Linked DNA regions of Homo sapiens: all the other regions are linked to region 1. The links are contacts of gene promoters, found by promoter capture Hi-C in blood cells and fetal thymus (Javierre and others, 2016). All regions are on one chromosome and are shown on one strand. Each heading gives the region's core, a stretch centred on a gene start or on the middle of the fragment in contact. The rest is flanking DNA. Distances are from core to core; before and after follow the strand shown.

The links. The method cuts DNA at HindIII sites, captures the fragments that hold promoters and counts their contacts. A CHiCAGO score of 5 or more calls a contact.
Region 2: a contact is called between a fragment that was not itself captured here and the fragment with the promoter of INHBA-AS1 in region 1, in 2 of 17 cell types (monocytes and fetal thymus). The highest score is 6.1, in monocytes.
Region 3: a contact is called between a fragment that was not itself captured here and the fragment with the promoter of INHBA-AS1 in region 1, in 1 of 17 cell types (neutrophils). The highest score is 6.3, in neutrophils.
Region 4: a fragment that was not itself captured here is called in contact with the fragment with the promoter of INHBA-AS1 in region 1 in 2 of 17 cell types (megakaryocytes and naive CD4 T cells); the score reaches 5.9 in megakaryocytes.
Region 5: a contact is called between the fragment with the promoter of MPLKIP here and the fragment with the promoter of INHBA-AS1 in region 1, in 2 of 17 cell types (neutrophils and monocytes). The highest score is 8.5, in neutrophils.
Region 6: a contact is called between the fragment with the promoter of CDK13 here and the fragment with the promoter of INHBA-AS1 in region 1, in 1 of 17 cell types (neutrophils). The highest score is 6.0, in neutrophils.
Region 7: a fragment that was not itself captured here is called in contact with the fragment with the promoter of INHBA-AS1 in region 1 in 1 of 17 cell types (total B cells); the score reaches 5.8 in total B cells.

The regions. Positions count from the first base shown.
Region 1 is chr7:41,692,645-41,695,344 of GRCh38, reverse strand. INHBA-AS1 (INHBA antisense RNA 1) reads right to left here and starts at 1,426. Exons shown (of 4, transcript NR_027118.2): 1 at 1,257-1,426. All of the region lies in intron 2 of INHBA (inhibin subunit beta A), which reads left to right. The HindIII fragment of the contact is 8,944 bases long and covers 1-2,700 here.
Region 2 is chr7:40,254,187-40,256,886 of GRCh38, reverse strand. The region is part of intron 7 of SUGCT (succinyl-CoA:glutarate-CoA transferase); the gene reads right to left. The region is part of intron 2 of LOC105375245 (a long non-coding RNA gene); the gene reads left to right. Among named protein-coding and RNA genes, the nearest start is that of SUGCT, 120 kb to the right of the region's middle. The HindIII fragment of the contact is 4,040 bases long and covers 1-2,700 here.
Region 3 is chr7:40,292,221-40,294,920 of GRCh38, reverse strand. The region is part of intron 8 of SUGCT (succinyl-CoA:glutarate-CoA transferase); the gene reads right to left. LOC105375245 (a long non-coding RNA gene) reads left to right here. Exons shown (of 3, transcript XR_927196.3): 2 at 523-579. Among named protein-coding and RNA genes, the nearest start is that of SUGCT, 160 kb to the right of the region's middle. The HindIII fragment of the contact is 2,743 bases long and covers 1-2,700 here.
Region 4 is chr7:40,216,896-40,219,595 of GRCh38, reverse strand. The region is part of intron 6 of SUGCT (succinyl-CoA:glutarate-CoA transferase); the gene reads right to left. Among named protein-coding and RNA genes, the nearest start is that of SUGCT, 83 kb to the right of the region's middle. The HindIII fragment of the contact is 3,437 bases long and covers 1-2,700 here.
Region 5 is chr7:40,133,197-40,135,896 of GRCh38, reverse strand. It overlaps MPLKIP (M-phase specific PLK1 interacting protein), which reads left to right and starts at 1,275. Exons shown (of 2, transcript NM_138701.4): 1 at 1,275-1,668; 2 at 2,638-2,700. The coding sequence starts at 1,330. It overlaps SUGCT (succinyl-CoA:glutarate-CoA transferase), which reads right to left and starts at 892. Exons shown (of 14, transcript NM_001193313.2): 1 at 777-892. The coding sequence starts at 876. RefSeq lists silencers at 820-1,019, 1,480-1,549 and an enhancer at 1,200-1,269. The HindIII fragment of the contact is 4,548 bases long and covers 1-2,700 here.
Region 6 is chr7:39,948,806-39,951,505 of GRCh38, reverse strand. CDK13 (cyclin dependent kinase 13) reads right to left here and starts at 1,250. Exons shown (of 14, transcript NM_003718.5): 1 at 1-1,250. The coding sequence starts at 864. It overlaps CDK13-DT (CDK13 divergent transcript), which reads left to right and starts at 2,087. Exons shown (of 1, transcript NR_158201.1): 1 at 2,087-2,700. RefSeq lists enhancers at 1-42, 1,183-1,462, 963-1,881, 1,933-2,182, 2,253-2,382 and 2 more and silencers at 253-312, 383-672, 1,463-1,692. The HindIII fragment of the contact is 3,453 bases long and covers 1-2,551 here.
Region 7 is chr7:40,339,046-40,341,745 of GRCh38, reverse strand. All of the region lies in intron 9 of SUGCT (succinyl-CoA:glutarate-CoA transferase), which reads right to left. Among named protein-coding and RNA genes, the nearest start is that of SUGCT, 210 kb to the right of the region's middle. The HindIII fragment of the contact is 2,505 bases long and covers 135-2,639 here.

The sequences.
Region 1 (2,700 bases), core at 177-2,676:
TGGAAAATTAAAGGAACAGACGCTTTTTACAGGGAGGCTTCCCCCAGCCCCCATCCCATGGTAAGTTTAAATGTGTTCTATAAACAACGAGGCTTTCCACATTCACATTAGAGACATAACTATTGCCCATATGTAAAAGAGCAACATATTTTAAGCAGGACCCTGGTGAGGAAAACAAAACCAAATCGAAACACTGCATGTGTGTGTTGCTTATTTAACTGAAAATGTTCATAGACCCACAAATCTGAGATGCTGGACTTTTGGATGAGTCCAGCATTTTGCATCTTAGTGTAGGGGGAGGGAACAACAAGGGGCTTAGTTGCTTAACCCTTGCCATGCCTTCATGATTGACTTATTCAAAACATTTTTAAAATTCTGAAAGCAAAGGAAAATGTGCTGCAAACACCCTTCCAGCTATCTTTCCTTCCAGCTTACACAGTCTCTCCTCTGTCCAATCCTTCCCACCCAGCAGCATTTCAGAGGTATTCCCTGTGAGGTACAAAATTTCTCTTTGCCCATTTTTCTGCACCTCTTTTTCTCTCTCTTTGGTATGTGTCCACCAAGCTCATAGAGGTTTAAGTGATGAAATATTATCACCCACATGGGTTTGCGTGGGACTTTCTTAGTGAATTACTCAGGCAGAGCAGGCTGTGATACAGCCTTGCTCACAAGCCTCGGGAGGGAAAAAATAGCACAGAGGATGAAAAGAATATTATTAGAGAGCAGGTAATGAAAGGTTCGCAAAGCAACCAGCTATATCTGGTTAGCTAGGTAATAGTGCAGGAACCTAGGTCGCACCTGTACAAACTAATGCAGAACCTGCTCACGGCGCACTATGGGAAGACATTCATTTCAAGAGTTTACAGCATGAGATATTTGAGTAAAACCTGAAACTGATTAGAAATTGATCCTGAACATCCCAGCCTTAGTCAACCTTCCCTTTTTCAAATTGTTATGCATGGAGATTGGAGGATTGGGGCATCTTGAAAGTGTCACTGCAGTATAGCAATCTCTCTCAGGTAATATAGAGATAAAGGGAATATAATAAATTGACCTGTTATTTATTATCTTTTTCATACCTAGGACATTCCGAGGCTTAATATATTTCTGAAGCCTACAGCCCTGATAAACATCAATCCCACGTCAGTTTCCAGCAGTCTCATCTCCCCACACCCTTCTGCAATGAAAGCTAATGTAAAAGAAAGAAATATGCACTGCTTAATAAGTCAGAATACAATAGAACTTGTAAAATGTACCTGCATATAAGGTAGACATTAGGAAGACTTGAATCTCTCTCTTCCCCCTGTTCTCCTGAGCATTATGGCAACAGCATTTTCATGAAATTAGATCTGTTTTATATTTTTTCCTGATAAAATATCATGCAATATACAAATAGCAGTTCCAGAAATGGACACCAGGAGAAGGAGGCGACAGGCATGTCAATTAGTAGGGGGAAAATCCAAATGTCAGAAATATGGGGGAGAGAGAAAGCACGCAGGCAGTGGATGCAAATACAGGGAACAGAGTCTTTCAATTCAGATAATTAAACGGATGCATAAATCAGCACCCTTGCCTCTCTACAATACGCAGGCGATGCCATGCAGTTAATTATCAGCCAAGACCAGCATGAAAGTCATTTTATGATGACTCTCTGATCCTAATATAACAGCACCTGACAGATTGAGCCCCCTCTAATGAGTACTCTCTTTGTACAATCCTCTCTCAGGAACACTAAATCATTTGCTTCCAAGTACAGCTGCCTGTGAAGAAGGGGTGGGGCTAGATCATGCATCAGAAACCTGCTCTTGTGAAATCAGGGGCTGTCCTGTAGGCTGTGTGACTGGAAGCCAGCAGCCTCAGCCTCTCTGGCCCTAAAAAAGCAATTTGCACACGGCTGTCCCTAATTCTAGTCAGCCAAGTAACCCTCCCTCGGCACCCCCACCTAAACATCTGTAGTCAGCCTTGGGTGTTATTCATGGAAAGTCCACTGCATGCGGGTCAGCACTGCTGTCCATCGGCTTCACCCTGACCCCTTCTGGCAGGTGTGGATGAGAGTAGAGCAGAGCTCATGGGGATGAGTTACCCCAAACCTATTAAGCCTCCCTATCCGGGGCACTAGTCAGACACTCCAGTTTTACACTCTTTCCTAGAAAAACAAAACCCAACCTTGTGCCCTCTGGGTTCTCTAATTTAGCAGCTACTATCTGTCTGTTTTTGGAGTGACACCCTGTGCAGTTTAGGATTTCAGAAGCTGTCCTGCATAGAGGCAGAAGGGAAAACAGCAGGTATCTTGTTAACATTCTCTATGGGGCAAGGCAGATGTGCCCAAGCTGGAGGAAACCTGCACACCCTCCAGGCTAGTTATCCAAGGCTTGGGAGGTTTCCCTCGGCCTTCTCCTAAGGCCTTGGCAGGACCCTGCCACCCTAAAATCAACTGCTGATTGCCTTTTTAGATTTAAATGATTAAGCTCTGCTTATGGGAATCTTCTTCTCTTTTATTTTGTTAAGAAACAAACAACAACAACAAAACCCACACCAATTCTTAGCAAAGGGGAATATCGAATTCAGATTTTGAAAAAATAAGTCATCATGCTTCCTAAAATAAGACAGCTTCTCCCTCTAACTGCTCTCTCTGCTCTGGTATTCTATCTAATCATAAACCCAGCTTTATTATTCATTTCAACTCCTGCCAAAGACATG
Region 2 (2,700 bases), core at 159-2,658, 1.4 Mb after region 1:
CTGTAGTCCCGGCTACTCAGGAGGCCAGAGCAAGAGAATCACTTGAACCTGGGAGGTGGAGGTTGCAATGAGCCGAGATGGCACCACTGCCCTTCAGCCTGGGTGACAGAGTGAGACTCTGTCTCAGACAAAAAAGTAAAAAATAAAAATAAAAAATTATGTATTCCAAATGTGATTACATTTGCAAGACTCTTTAGAAAGATGCCAACAAATAACTGTTTCTGTAACAAGGACTACTGACCATTGAGAATCCTCATTCCCAGTCCAAACAAAGGGCTTGAATCTTTCTCTCCCCAAAAAAGGAAATACACCAGCATCCTCATTCCTCACCCTATGTAACTCCAATGTAAAATTATTTAGATGAGAAAATTTTTAAGCATTTTCCTCAAATAATGTCTCTGATCTCATTTATTTATTCTGCTTCGACCAGCAACAGCACTATTTATAGGTAACCAAAAGATACCTATAAATCAGCTGTAGCTGACCTGGGTTGGCTTCATTGCTATGGGTCTTACTATGGAATCTTCATTGTATAGAGAAGGCCAAAAACTACTAAGATTGGCTAAACCAATCTTCTTAGCCATAAGGAACTGAAAACAAGGAACAGGCTGAAATTTCATCTGTATCTGGTCCCAGAAAGGACCTTAATCCACAACCCAAAAATGTCAGGGGAAAAGAAATTCTAAATATAAATCCCATTGACTCTTGAGACATGCAAATCATCTCTTCCTCTCTATTTTTCTCTCAGAAACAACTATGCAATTATACTTTTCTTAAATAAATTCCAATGGGATCATAAAATTTAAAGAAATTTAGATTTCATGAGATGACAATAAATTTAACCCTGATCCAACTCTGTCAAGGAGAGTGGTGGAGCAAGATGGTGGAATAAAAAGCTCCACCGACCATCCCCCAACATGCACACACAAGGAGTTAACAACTATCTACACCTTCATAAGGACCAAATATCAGGTGAGCATTCATAGTACCTGGTATTAACTCTGTCCATTATATTTACCAAATGAATAGAGAATTTCAAAGATCTATGTACAAGATGGCAGTAGATCAAGACCAAGGTCCAATCTCTCCTTCTTAGACTGTGATGGCGAAAATAAAATATCAAGGAGCAATGAGATTACAAATAAAGGAAAATATGCAAAGCTACAGATCATAAACAAACAATGCAGACAGTTATTTTCTTTTTTTTTTTTTTTTTTTTTTTTTTTGATACAGAGTCTCACTCAGCCGCCCAGGCTGGAGTGCAGTGGCGTGATCTCGGCTCACTGCAACCGCCCTCTCCCGGGTTCAAGCAATTCTACCGTCTCAGCCTCCTGAATAGCTGGGATTACAGGCATCCACCATCATGCCCGGCTAATTTTTGTATTTTAGCAGAGCCGAGGTTTCCTCATGTTGGCCAGGCTGGTCTTGAACTCCTGACCTCAGGTGAACAGCCGGCCCCGGCCTCCCAAGGTGCTAGGATTACAGGCGTGAGCCACTGTGCCCAGCCTCAGCCTGTTATTTTCAATACTTTCATTAAGTCAGGCAAAAATAAACCGTCTCTTGCCTAATCCTTCTACCAGTGTTCTTTTCTCTTGCAATTTATGGACAAGTTCAAACTGAAGACATATCCTTTCCAGGATTCTTTTTTTTTTTTTTTTTGAGATGAAGTTTCACTCTTGTTGCCCAGGCTGGAGTGCAATGGTGAGATCTCAGCTCACTGCAACCTCTGCCTCCCGGGTTCAAGTGGTTCTCCTGCCTCAGCCTCCTGAGTAGCTGGGATTACAGGTGACTGCCACCACGCATGGCTAATTTTCTGTTTTTAGTAGAGATGGGGGTTTCTCCATGTTGGCCAGGCTGGTCTCGAACTCCCGACCTCAGATGATGCTCCCCCCGCCCCACCTTGGCCTCCCAAAGTGCTGGGATTACAGGTGTGAGCCACCGCGCCCAGCCAACATATCCTTTCATTACTATTGTTTTTCAAACTTTAAAGCAAATATTTTATTTGGATCACATAAAAACTAAAGGATCATTACCATGAATGTGCTAAATTTTTGAAAAATAAATTTTTTTTATAAAAAAAGGTACATTTTATTTAAAAGGCATTTGAATGATAGAGGAATATAACAGAGGTAAAACCTGACATTTTAAACTACAGAAGATTGCATGATCTTTTACAAAATAAATAAATTGTTGGCTGGGTGCGGTGGCTGACACCTGTAATCCCAGCACCTTGGGAGGCCAAGGCAGGTAGATCACTTTAGGTCAGGAGTTCAAGACCAGTCCAGCCAACATGGTGAAACCCCACCTCTACTAAAAAATACAAAAATTAGCTGGGTGTGGTGGTACCTGTAATCCCAGCTACTCAGGAGGCTGAGACAGGAGAATTGCTTGAATCCAGGCGGCAGAGGTTGCGGAGAGCCGAGATCACACCACTGCACTCCAGCCTGGGCGACAGAACAAGACTGTTGCAAAAAAATAAATAAGTAAATAAATAAGTAAATTTTTAGCAAGCATTAGATATTTCAGAATAAGACATAATCCTTCCACAATGAAATACTTTCTATGAAAAAAGAAACATCTCAAATAGGGGAGTCCCTTTCCCCCAAAAGACATTTCTTGAAAAACCAGGATTCATTGTGTATGTGTGTATGTGTGTGTGAAATCTTTCACTAGCACTCTGTTTTAGAAAAGAGGTTTTAG
Region 3 (2,700 bases), core at 109-2,608, 1.4 Mb after region 1:
TTTTCCAACTGACAGCTAAGCTAGCTTTTAAATTTTCATTTTTCAAAGTGCCGAGATTAATAATGCATCAACAGGGCCAGGCACAGTGGCTCACACCTGTAATCCCAGCACTTTGGGAGGCTGAGGTGTGCGGACCACCTGAGGTCAGGAGGCCGAGACCAGCCTGACCAACATGGTGAAACCCCATCTCTACTAAAAGTACAAAAACTAGCCGGGCGTGGTGGTGGGCACCTGTAATCCCAGCTACTTGGGAGGCAGAGGCAGGAGAATCACTTGAACCTGAGAAGCGGAGGTTGCAGTGAGCCGAGATCACAATGCCACTGCACTCCAGCCTGGGTGGCAGAGTGAAACTCCGTCTCAAATCATCATCATCTTCATCATCATAACGCATCTATGGGAAGTGAATATGATTTAAAAGACTGGTATGTAAACTCTGGAACCAATATGTGACCAGCGGAATCTAACTTGAGGTTCATGTCTATGGCCATTGGAATGTCCCTCTCTGCTGCTGCTTCCTTTCAGGACAAGGGCTTCAGATGAAGAGCTCCTAAACACTCCTAAAGACTACCAGTTACACAGGTAAGCTGCTGTTATTCACTTAGTCCATATCTTCGTTGCCTCAGTTGTGTTCATTGTATCCACACAGTTATCAAGCCTTAAAGTTCTGTCTAGGCCAGACGCGGTAGCTCAAGCCTGTAATCCCAGCACTTTGGGAGGCTGAGGCAGGCGGATCACCTGAGGTCAGGAGTAGGCAAGACCAGCCTGGCCAGCATGGTGAAACCCCGTCTCTACTAAAAATACAAAAAATAGTGGGGCGCCATAGTGCGTGCCTGTAATCCCAGCTACTAGGGAGGCTGAGGCAGGTGAATCGCTTGAATCTGGGAGGCGGAGGTTGCAGTGAACCAAGATTGTGCCACTGCACTCCAGTCTGAGCAACAGAGCGAGACTCCAACTCAAAAAAACAAAAAAAAAAGCTCTTTCTAAATCACTGTATGTTCTTTTAGTCCCCTGTCCTGAGGTAGCCTGTAGAGCAAAGACATTAAGTACAGAACTATCCCCCAGACAAGCCAAGAAAGTTGCTACAATTACAACTTCAGTTTTGATTAAAAATTATTTGGGGAAAGTCAATGCCATTTAATTTTAGGAGTATCAAATGATAGTATTAGTGGAACCATCCAAGAAGCCTCTCTACATAAGAGACACACCTTGCAGGTTTACCCTAAAACACACTTTCTTTTTAAATTGTAACCCCTGGGTCTACTGCATCAGAGTTATCTGGGGTGCTACTCCAAAATGCAGATTCCTGAATCCTGCCCCAGACTGAGTGGATCTCAATGCTTGCGTGTGAGGCCCAGGAATCAGTTTTTCAAAAAGCTCACTGGTACTTTTATACATCATAAGTTCATGAATTATTCTGTGGGACAGCAGTTTTCAAACTTTGCTGCCCATCAGAATCATCCGGAGAGATTTTTAAAACCTCAGTACACAGACCATGCCCTATACCAGTTAAATTAGAATCTCTGGGGATGGGAAAGAGACAGCAGAAATTCTGAAAACTCCACAGGTGATTCCAATGGGCAGCCAACGTTGAGCACTGGTGTTGTGAAGGACCAAGGTACAGCTTAGAGACCAAGTTGAGTCCTCCTGAGCGTCAAAGCACACTCAACTTGAGACTTTTAACAGTAGCAACAACAACAAAATGGTTAATACTCACTTTTTCATAGTGACAATAAGACCTAACAAGCTGCCATAAAAATCTTAAGTATGGTATAAACACAGAAAAATTCTCATTACCAAATATGACTACATACAATTAAAAAAAAAGTTTTCAACACTTTTAAACAAACAAAAATGCAAATCATTAATTCCAGCCTCCATTGACAGAAAACTTATGCTCTAAATACAGCTCTGAACCTGTCTTCTAGATCGGTTTCATTAAATAATATGATGAAGTGACCAATATGGTTTTTTTCATGACGTTACATACCAATCTGCAACAGCTTGGGGATAGTTAGAAAATACAGAAGTAGAATGTGTATCAGAATAAACTAAATTTCAGATTCATTGAGCTGATATCTCAAGTCAAGAGCTTCTGTAGTTAAAAGACTGAAAGATGGATGCACCTGATTTTCCCTCAGGGGCTTACAAGATAAGATAGTGCATTATTAAACCTGACAAAACATATCTGACTATACCGCACCAGAAACTACAGTCACAGAATTTTAAAAGTATGTCTTTACTTAATGAAGTACAAATTTCAAACTCAAACTGGGCCTACAGACTTAGCAGAAGGCAAAAGGAGAATGTACTCATTTTACTATTGTGACCTGGCTTGAGTTCAATAGAATCAAAGATATAAAAGAATTACAGAGCTGTCTGGTGGAAAGGAAATCATCATTTCATAAAGGACTCAATGACTTACATGATTTCAAATCATGCTTTAAGTGTCTGCCGCTTCCTTTAAAGAAAACCTCAAAATGCATCTGAATTGTCGTCTATCCTGTAAGTGTGGTTCAGTTTCAGGAAGAACTGATTGAACTGAAAATAACTATCCCACCAAGAAGACAGTGTTTCTGGAACTTTAAAAAATACAGACTCTAGAGCAAGGCTGAAATTTCTTACAATTGTCTCTCAACAATGTGTTAATCCCCTGTCCCTATGAAAATCCACCTAAAATATAAAACTGCTGAAATTAAAAAT
Region 4 (2,700 bases), core at 80-2,579, 1.5 Mb after region 1:
GTCACAACGTCCCAAAGAGACAGTGTCACCTAACTTTTACAATTGAGATGACTGATCATGACATCCAATTACAACACTTTCTCCCCCCTTCATTTGGAAAAGTGGGAGCCAGGCTTCTATTGTTTAATAAAAATGTTATTACTACAAAGTAGTACATGTGTGTATTTCTTCTCCAAAGAGCAAATAATAATTTTGAAGAGCACCTCTTGCTTTCACTCCCTTTATTCTACTTACTAATTTGTATTTAAATGTGTCCGGAATTGGTGGGTTCTTGGTCTCACTGACTTCAAGAATTAAGCTGCGGACCCTCGCGGTGAGTGTTACAGTTCTTAAAGATGGTGTGTCTGGAGTTTGTTCCTTCTGATATTCGGACATGTCTGGAGTTTCTTCCTTCTGGTGGGATCCTGGTCTCGCTGACTTCAGGAGGGAAGCTGCAGACCTTGGCCATGAGTGTTATAGCTCATAAAGGTGGCGCGTCCAGAGTTGTTCGTTCCTCCAGGTGGGTTCATGGTCTCGCTGGCTTCAGGAGTGAAGCTGCAGACCTTCGTGGTGAGTGTTACAGCTCATAAAGGTAGTGCGGACCCAAAGAGTGAGTAGTAGCAAGACTTATTGCAAGGAGCGAAAGAATGTAGCTGGCACAACTTGGAAGGGGACCCCAACGGATTTCCGCCACTGGCTCGGGTGGCCAGCTTTTATTCCCTTATTTGGCCCCACCCACATGCTGCTGATTGGTCCATTTTACAGAGTGCTGATTGGTCCATTTTAGACAGTGCTGACTGGTCCATTTTTACAGAGTGCTGATTGGTGCGTTTACAAACCTTTGGCTAGACACAGAATGCTGATTGGTGCGTTTTTACAGAGTGCTGATTGGTGCATTTACAAACCTTTAGCTAGACACAGAGCGCTGATTGGTGTGTTTACAATCCTCTAGCTAGACAGAAAAGTTATTCAGGTCCCCACCCAATTAGCTAGACACAGAGCACTGATTGGTGCGTTTTTACTGAGTGCTGATTGGTGTGTTTACAAACCTTTAGCTAGACACAGAGCGCTGATTGGTGCATTTACAATCCTTTAGCTAAACCGAAAAGTTCTCCAAGTCCTCACCCGACCCAGAAGCCCAGCTGGCTTCACCGCTCAACAACGTCCCAAAGAGACAATGTCACCTAACTTTTATAATTGAGATGACTGATCATGACATCCAGTTACAACACTTTTCCCCCCACTTCATTTGGAGAAGTGGGAGCCAGGCTTCTATTGTTTAATGAAAATGTTACTACTACAAAGTAGTACATGCGTGTATTTCTCCAATGAGCAAATAATAATTTTGAAGAGCACCTCTTGCTTTCACTCCCTTTATTCTACTTACTTTTTTTGTTTTGTTTTGAGACAAAGTCTAGCTCTGTCACCCAGGCTGGAGCACTGTGGCACAGTGTCAGCTCACGGCAGCCTCTGCCTCCCAGGTTCAAATGATTCTCCTGCCTCAGCCTCCCAAAAACTGGGATTACAGGTGCACACCACCATGCCCAGATAATTTTTGTATTTTTAGTAGAGACAGGGTTTCACCATGTTAGCCAGGATGATCTCAAACTCCTGACCTCAAGGATTCCACCTGCTTTGGCCTCCCAAAGCGCTAGGATTACAGGTGTGAGCCACCACACCTGGCCCCCTTTATTTTAAATTGTGTAAATTATCCTCTTGGAATGGAACTCCCCAACCATGGATGACCAATTCAAGTGACACTAGTGACAGTTTTTCAAGCCCATCTTTTTTCAGGATAACCCCGTGGCAAGTAGCCAAATGTTTCTGCCCACAAATGCAAGATGTTCCAAGGGTAACCTGGTATAGTCATTAATTCTAGACTGCATGTCAAACAACAGATAGCTTTCTGAAACCCAAATTTGGGTTTTCCATCAGTCCCATCCACTTTTCTGTTTCTACAGCCATTCAGAGATTCCGAGTTACCAGTACACAACAGAGGAGAAAGTAGAGGAGGATGGGGAGAAAGGCACAACATGCTGGGATGCTTTGATACCTGAGGAACAGCACTGTAAGCAGGTGTGGAGACAACGATAATTCAGGAAGTTGGCCAGGCGCGGTGGCTCATTCCTGTAATCCCAGCACTTTGGGAGACCAGAGCCGGCAGATTGCTTGAGGTTTGGAGATCAAGACCATCCTGGGCAACATGGGAAAACCCCTTCTCTACAAAAAAATACAAAAATTAGCCTGGTGTAGTGGCACGAGCCTGTAGTCCGAGCCACTTGGGAAGCTGAGGTGGGAGGATCACTTGAGTCCCGGAGGCAGAGGTCGCAGCCAGTCTTAGATGGCGCCATGACACTCCAGCCTGGGTGACAGAGTGAGACCCTGTCTTAAAAAAAAGAAGAAGAAGAATAATTCTGGAATCAATTCAAGACAGGTTGGTGGGCAACGGAGAAGGGTAAACATCAAATGGTATCTGTGGCCCTAGCTTAATCACAGTATCAGGCAGTTAAGACAACAGACTAGAAACCTCAGTGCAGCAAACTCTTGCTAAATTCAGATACAGACTCCATAAACAATTTGCCATTCAATATAAGACTGAGGGGGGGGAAATGCCAGCATCCAAATGAACAGAGTAAAAAGAACACCACAAAGAAAATACTTACACTTGCCCTGAACATCCTGACTGCCTGTAATGATTTTTATTCTTTCTTATATGGAGAG
Region 5 (2,700 bases), core at 26-2,525, 1.6 Mb after region 1:
TAACTTGAGGTCAGGAATTCGAGACCAGCCTGGCCAATATGGCGAAACCCCGTCTCTACTAAAAATACAAAAATTAGTTGGGCGTGGTGGCGCATGCCTATAATCCCAGCTACTCGGAAGGCTGAAGCAGGAAAATCTCCTGAACACGGGAGGAGGAGGTTGCAGTGAGCCGAGATCGCGCCACTGCAGTCCAGCCTGGGCGAGACAGCGAGACTCCGTCTCAAAAAAAAGAGAAAAAAAGAAAAAAGGAAAAAAAAGATTCATAGTGGATTACCATTCCCAAATTCAGAGGGAGTAAAGAAAGTTCTATAACACTGTAGTAAAGCTAAATTTCATCCTCTAAATAAAATTCTGCAACAGGTAACTGTACAAGGGCATCTTTTATTGTACATGAAGTGTCAAGTTATTCAAAGCAGCGGGCTAAAGTCCTTTCTGAAATGTGGCTTGGTGTGCATTTTCGAAGTTACTTAAACTTGGCGGACGAAAGGACAGGAGTAAAGAGGCCCCAAACGCGAGCCGCGGGACGCGCAGGAGCGGGACCCCACGGCGCACGGAGCCCTCGGTCACAACAACGCACGGGACAGAGGCGACCCTGGGCGGCCAGAGCGGGGCAGGCCGGCCGCAGGCCCACGGAACGGGGTTGCAGGGAGGCGAGCAAAGCCACCGCTAAGGGGTCAGCAGAGACTTCAGACCCTAATTGCTCTCCTCAGGGCGCCCGAGGAGGCAAGCTGGGGCAGGGATCCCTTTAGCCACCCAGACCGAATCTCGGAGGGTACCTGACTGCGGGCGGCCAGTCCACAGCCCCCTCCCGCCGCCCCGGCCGGAGAAGAGGCAGGTTCTGCGCAGAGCTGCCACCCTCGCCAGCGTCGCCAGCATCGCGTGCGTCTCAGATGGCATCGGTCCCGGTGCAAGCGGCGAACTCCGTGCGGCGCCACCCGCCGCCACTGGGGGGCGCCCACGGACGCCGCAGACCCCGCCCCCGCCGGGCGGGGCTGAGCACTAGTCGCCTGCTGGGCCAGCTTCTAGTCTGTCGGTCAGACCAAGGGCACTCAGACTGGAAAGGTTGTTGCTGGGCTTGGGTGTCCGTCCTTTCCTGTCTCCTTTTCTTCCTCTTTTCACTTAAATCCACTGAGTCTCTCGCCAAGTCAGTGATTTAGGTAATCCCGCCGCCCCTGGCGGAACCTTTGTGACGCCGGAACTGATGTGCCGTAGGGTGGCTGCGGTCGGAGGACTGTTTTGGTAAAGGACTAGCAGTTCTCTGCGGAGGGCCGGTTGATACAGTTCCGGTGGGAGAACGCGGCTGCGAGGTTTTCGGCTTTGGCTCCTGATATGCAGCGACAGAATTTTCGGCCCCCAACTCCTCCTTACCCTGGTCCGGGTGGAGGAGGTTGGGGTAGCGGAAGCAGCTTCCGGGGAACCCCGGGCGGGGGCGGACCACGGCCGCCCTCCCCTCGAGACGGGTACGGGAGTCCGCACCACACGCCGCCGTACGGGCCCCGGTCTAGGCCGTACGGGAGCAGTCACTCTCCGCGACACGGCGGCAGCTTCCCGGGGGGCCGGTTCGGGTCTCCGTCCCCTGGCGGCTACCCTGGCTCCTACTCCAGGTCCCCCGCGGGGTCCCAGCAGCAATTCGGCTACTCCCCAGGGCAGCAGCAGACCCACCCCCAGGTAATAATAATAGCCAGCGTTTGCCGAGCTCTTACTTTATGGCAGGCACGGTACTAATATTCCCTTTACGTGGATTATTTTGTCTAATCCTCTCTGAGGTACTATTGTTAGCCCAATTTTGCAGATGAGCGAACTGAGGCTTAGAGAAGTTGAGTGACTTCCGGAAGATTATCCGAAAGAGTGGCAGAGCCGTACGTTCTGTTTTCGAGCCCTCGTGCTTTTAACCAATACACTGCCACCCGTACACAGATTTTCCTAATTCTCCATTTCCTCCTGTTTGCCAAAGGCCTTGCCAGTTTGTTTCAAGAAATAGTTCTTTTTCTTTTTTTTTTTTTTTTTTTTATCTTTCTTTCGAGCTACACTGGCTTCTGCTCCAACTTCCCTGAAAAGAAAATCGGTGGTAGTGGAAGTTTTCCATTCCTTTAGTGAGAGTAAATACAAAAGACAGAGAGAGTATCTCTAGCATGTCTGGGATTTCTGTGGTTTACAACTTGCAACTACGTGGTTTTCCAACTTGCTGTATTCTACACCAACCCCCTACCCCTTTTGAGCCTGGAGCTAAGGAGTAAAGAAAATGTTCATGAGCTAGAAAGGTTCTAGAAACTTTAAAACTATAGTATTGTTTTCTCCTGAAAAAAGTGAAAATTTCGAGGGAAAATTGAATATAATTACTTGATTTCATCACTGCTTGTATTTAATTACTGCAAAGTTACTACATTAGACACAAAAGTATTTGAGATGACAGTGGTCATGGAATTATAAATAAATGAGAATAACGAATTGCTTTAAGTACTTTTTTTAAAAAATAGGAACACTTGATTAAAGGAAGCATGGACTTTGTAATTGAACATTATTTAGGTTCAAGTCACAACTTTTAAGCAGCAATGTGATTCCCGCTAACCTTTAGCTAAAGGAAGAAGTACCAATTATCTTTACTAAGTGTTTTTTTAACTGATTTTTTTTCTAAAGGGTTCTCCAAGGACATCTACACCATTTGGATCAGGGCGTGTTAGAGAAAAAAGAATGTCTAAT
Region 6 (2,700 bases), core at 1-2,500, 1.7 Mb after region 1:
CTCCTTGGACGACTTAGTCCGGCTGCGGTGGGCCTTCGAGTCCCGGTCCTTGCGGCTGCTACTGCTGCTGGATGTGGCCGAAGCGCTTTTCCGGCGGCCGCCGCTGCTGCTGCTGCTGCCGCTCTTGGCGACCTCGGCCCGTTCCTCGCCGCTGTGGCTGTGGCGGCTGCGGGACTTGGAGGCCTCGCTGCCACCGCGCTGCCCATCCCGCCGCCGGTGCTCGCGGTGGCGCTCCTTGCTGCGGCCACTGCTGCTGCGGCGGTCCCGGCGGGGCCTGCGCTCCGACCCCTCCCCGCGCCGCTGGGTGCCGGAGGAGGAGGCCGGACTCCCGCCGCTGCCCCCCGTTCCCCCGGCAGCCGTCGCCGCCGTTGCCGCGCTGGCCCCCCCCAGCAGCAGCCCCTGCTCGGACTGGGAGCTCACATCCTCGTATTCCACCAGCGGGGTCACACCCCCGCCGCTACTAGCACCGCCACCGCCGTCCTGCTGCGGCTGGGGCAGCGAGAAGACCCGACGCTTCTCCGCCTCCTGCCCGGCGCGGGGCCCGCGACGCCGCTTCTGCCGCCCTCCTGCGCGCCTCTTGCCTCTCGCCAGCCGCTTGACCTCCAGAGGGGGGCCCGGGCTGAAGCAAGAGGAGGAGGCCGCGGCGGCGGCGGCTGCGGCGGCGGCCGTGCCGGGAGCAGCCAGGAAGAGCAGAGGCGGCGGGGGCGGCGGCGGTTGCAGGAGCTGCGGCTGCAGGAGCGGCAACAGCAGCGGCGGCTGCTGAGGGGACAGGAATCGCCTCCGCTTGCGGCGTTCCTCCAACTTCTTCTCCGCCCAGCTCAGGCCCCCGCCTCCCCCCAGCGCCGTGTCCGAGCTGCTCGGCATCGCCTAGAGCCAGCCGCAGAGCGCGGCGCGGGTGCGGCCTCCTCCCGGGTCAGATCCTGGCCATCTCCCCCGCCGGAAACGGGAGCGGCGGCGGAGGGACACCGAGCACCAGAGCCGGCCGGGAAAAGCGCCACGATAATCCGGGTCGGGACTCGGGTCCCTGGGTTCCAGGTCACAGTGGGGTACGCAGCAGCCTCCGGGCCCCAGGGAAGCAGGAATCCGGGCGGCGGAGCTCCCGATTGCGCTCGTCGTCCTATCCTCGGCAGCGAAAACACCAGATGCGCCGGGCGCTGACCTGCGGGGGAGTCCCGAGTCCTCCAAGTGCCCCCGGGGGTGGGGGAGCGGCCTTGGCCGCGCTCTCGGCTCGGGCAGCGCAACGCGGAAGTACCACCTTCGTCGCCGCTTCACTCCATCGCGCCCTGACGTTGGGTGCAAGTTCAGGGGAGGGGAGTGGGCGAGACAACAACACGCCTCCACCGCCTCCTCCTCGGCGTCGACGTCGTCCTCCTGTGGTGGCGGCGACACACCGCAGGCGCCTCGGAAGTGGCCTGGGCCTGACAACAACTCCCGGCCTAGGGCCTCGCGCACTCTGCGGCCCGCGGGGCTGGGCAGCGGGGCGGGGCGAGGCGGGGGCGACCGGGCTGCGGCTCTCGGTTGGGGCAGCGACTGTGCGGGGCTGGGCGGGGGGCTATTTCCGGGGAGATGGGGGCAGGGGCGTTTCTGAGTCTGTGGCGGTAGGTACGGGCCCTGACTTTCTTCTTCTTTCGCCGCCGCCGCCGCCGCCAGCAGAGGTGGCGGAGCTACCCCTTTCCTCCGCTCCCCCCCTCCACGAGGAGGCTCCTGGTGTGCGCGGCCTGCCCCGGCTCGCTCCTCCCCTTCCCTCTCCGCTCCTCGTCAGGAGGAGGGAGAGCAACGGGACTTGCTGGTTGGGCCCTAACCTCCACAACCCCTCCTTCTCGCCTCGCTCTTTCGGCTTTTCCCCTCAGCCCTGACGTACGACCGGGAGCGCGCCCGCAATTCACGCTCAGAGAAAGCCGAAGATGAGAGGTGGCCGGGGCAAGAGAGGCGGGAACAAAGTTACCGCGCACTGGCGTGCTCGCTCCCGCCAGGGGCCGGCAGGCCGCACCGGAAGTGGCATGATGTAGAAACCGCTCGGCTTCCGGCGAGGGTGGGACTCCGTGTGAAGAAGGGTTAAAGAAAGGAGAGGATTCGTGTGCCGCCCACTGCTGTTGCTTGAGACTCTGCCCGTGGTGGCGCGCCTGTCGTGCTTGTTGCTTGCGTCCAGCGCGCAGTGCCGGTTCCGGCTCTGCAGACGCCGCACTGCCTGCCTGTTGAGCGAAAGGTCACAGTGAGAACAAGTGTTTCTGGAGACTGCGAGGGAAATAATGCTGTTGGTGGCCTTCTGGAGTAGGCAGTTACCCCCCGTGTACCTTCAGTCAAGCCCTGGGAGTGGAACAGCTGCGAAAGGAGAGAAAACACCCCGCAAAACAGGGTGGAGATGGCGTTGGTTTAACTTGTCTCACGTACGCCAAAGTTCGAGGCCCCATTTTTTTTTTTTTTTTTTTTGAGACTGAGTTTCGCTCTCGTTGCCCAGGCTGGAGTGCAATGGTGCGATCTCGGCTCACCGCAACTTCCGCGAGGCCCCTTCTTATCCTAAAAAACACACTTGGGAATCACAGCTCAAGCTTCGGTAACACTATTTACTTTAAAATAAAAATTTTTAAAGCTTTAAATCAATACAGGAAATAAGTGGAATGTTAAAAGGAACTACTGAAAATTCCAAATTCTCAGGAGGCTTGAAATAAAAACATCTTGTGCGAATGAGGACTGCCCTCT
Region 7 (2,700 bases), core at 138-2,637, 1.4 Mb after region 1:
GGTTTCTAACTAATTCACAGCCCACAATTTTACAAGTTTAGTGTAGTTTCTTTTTCCCTAAATAGGTAGCACTTCTCACAGTACTGGATCCTCCCCGCCACTTTCTTGTCCATTTATGCCATCTTTCAAAAGCTTATTCCAGTTGATTTATAATTTTACTGGCCAAAAGAGCTTAAATCCTGTACCTTTAGAAACTTCATTGTGTGCCTGCCCTTTCAGATTATCTATAAACATGTTTAATAAAGAGGCCCAGCAGAAATCCCAAGAGGGACCTCACTGTTTACACATCTCCCTCAACAGCAGGCGCATACATTCTACACTTTTTTTTTCTCTATTAATACCTACCTGTGGTGAAATTTCCCTCCTAATACCATGGTAACACAATTTGGAATAGCATTGTGAAACTTTTTGACTCCTTGAAAGTCTAAACAAATTGTTTCTTGCTTTTTTCCTGGTGCTTGTTTACCCTTTCAAATAGCTCAAGTATATTATAAAAAACAGGATGCTTTTCTCCATTCATTATACAAAATGGTCAATGATCCTACAATTTCTGGAGTTTACTAATATGAATGAGATTCAACAGTCAATAGATTGTAGGGTCTCCTCAGTAGGTTTCATTAGAATGTAAACAAGAATTCACTAATACTGAAGAGTGAGTGCAATAACTTATTTCACATTTAGATCCATTTATTCCCTTGAGTTTCTTCAGACCCTCATAATGGATGTCATAAAGTTTCAGCAATTTACTTATATCCATCAGGCCAATCAGGCAGAACATCCTGTTCCCTTATCACTATTTGATCTAATACTACATACCTCACCTCTTTGCTTCAAAAGACATGATGACAGTGGAAAGTTCTACATTTCAACAAAGACCAAAGTGAAGAATTCATTGAGTTTCCAGATCTCCTTTTTTCCCCGTGAGCACCCTGATCATCAAGCAGTCTCATTGATTCTCCAGTCGACCTTCTATCTTTCATGTATAAAAACGCTTTTATTTCTGAATTGCAGTCCTTTTTGTGCTGTGTCTTGAATTCCTTTATAGCCGGACTGGCTCCTTATTTACACCTGACCTGTCACACTTTGAGGTCTTCCCTGTTCTCACTTGAACAATCTTTTGCCTACTTTTTCCCCCTACTTTTGCTTCTTTTACTTTATGAAATGGATGCAAAAGTCTTTATATGAGCTCCTAATCTTTGATATGACGTATTCCCCTGCCCTTCTATTAATGTATTTAAAGCATTTCCAGATTTCTTACAAGTTACAGACTTTTAAAAATATTACTTTCATTTTTTAACTTAATGCACACGTTGATTTGATCATAGTTCCATTCTCTTAAATTGAGGAATAATGTGATAGGGTTTTTTTTTTATTTTTGGCCTTTATTTCCCTTTAGAAGGTTAAGTGAAATTGAGTTGTGAGCCTTATTACAATAATCACAGATTATTTCCTGTACCAATCCCTGCACAGTCCTAGGCCCAAGTCCAGTATAATTCCATTCCTTATGTAATTCTAACACTTCTTGCCCTATGTGGCAGATACTTATGCACAATCTTTTTTCAGTTGTATAGTGTGATTTCTCTCATACTACTTACTACTATTTGTTCTAATTTTCCAGTGTTCCCAATGTAATTTCACTATCCTTACCATATTGAGTTGGTTTCTGGCAGATAATCTTAACCTAGGGTCCAGGAATGAGTTCTAGGAAGTCTAAGAAGCTCCTGATATCCCAGGCAAAAATCATGCATGTATATCAATATGTGTACTTTTCTAAGAAAGGCTTTCATAGATTTCATCAGTTCCTCAAAAGAATTACAGGCAACAAGAAAGTTTAAGAGCCACTGGGCAAAAAAGGGCGGTTCCAAGATGGCCAAAGAGCAACAGCTCCAGTCTACAGCTCCCAGCGTAAGTGATGCAGAAGACGGGTGATTTCTGCATTTCCAACTGAGGTACCAGGTTCATCTCACTGGGACTTGTTGGACAGTGAGTGCAGGACAGTGGGTGCAGCCCACCCAGCGTGAGCCAAGGCAAGGTGAAGCATCACCTCACCCAGGAAGCGCAAGGGGTCAGGGAATACCCTTTCCTAGCCAAGCGAAGCTGTGACAGATGGCACCTGGAAAATCGGGTCACTCCCACCCTAATACTGCACTTCTCCAATGGTCTTAGCAAACGGCACACCAGGAGATTATATCCCACACCTGGCTCAGAGGGTCCCACGCCCATGGAGCCTCACTCATTGCTAGCACAGCGGTCTGAGATCAAACTGCAAGATGGCAGTGAGGCTAGGAGAGGGGCGCCCACCATTGCTGAGGCTTGAGTAGGTAAACAAAGCGGCCAGGAAGCTCGAACCAGGTGGAGCCCACCGCAGCTCAAGGAGGCCTGCCTGCCTCTGTAGACTCCACCTCTGGGGGCAGGGCATAGCCAAACAAAAGGCAGAGAAACCCCTGCAGACTTAAATGTCCCTGTCTGACAGCTTTGAAGAGAACAGTGGTTCTCCCAACACAGAGTTTGAGAACTGAGAACGCTAAGACTGCCTCCTCAAGTGTGCCCCTGATCCCTGAGTAGCCTAACTGGGAGGTACCCCCCAGTAGGGGCAGACTGACACCTCACACGGCTGGGTACCCCTCTGAGACAAAGCTTCCAGAGGAACAATCAGGCAGTAACATTTGCTGTTCAGCAATGTTCACTGTTCTGTAGCCT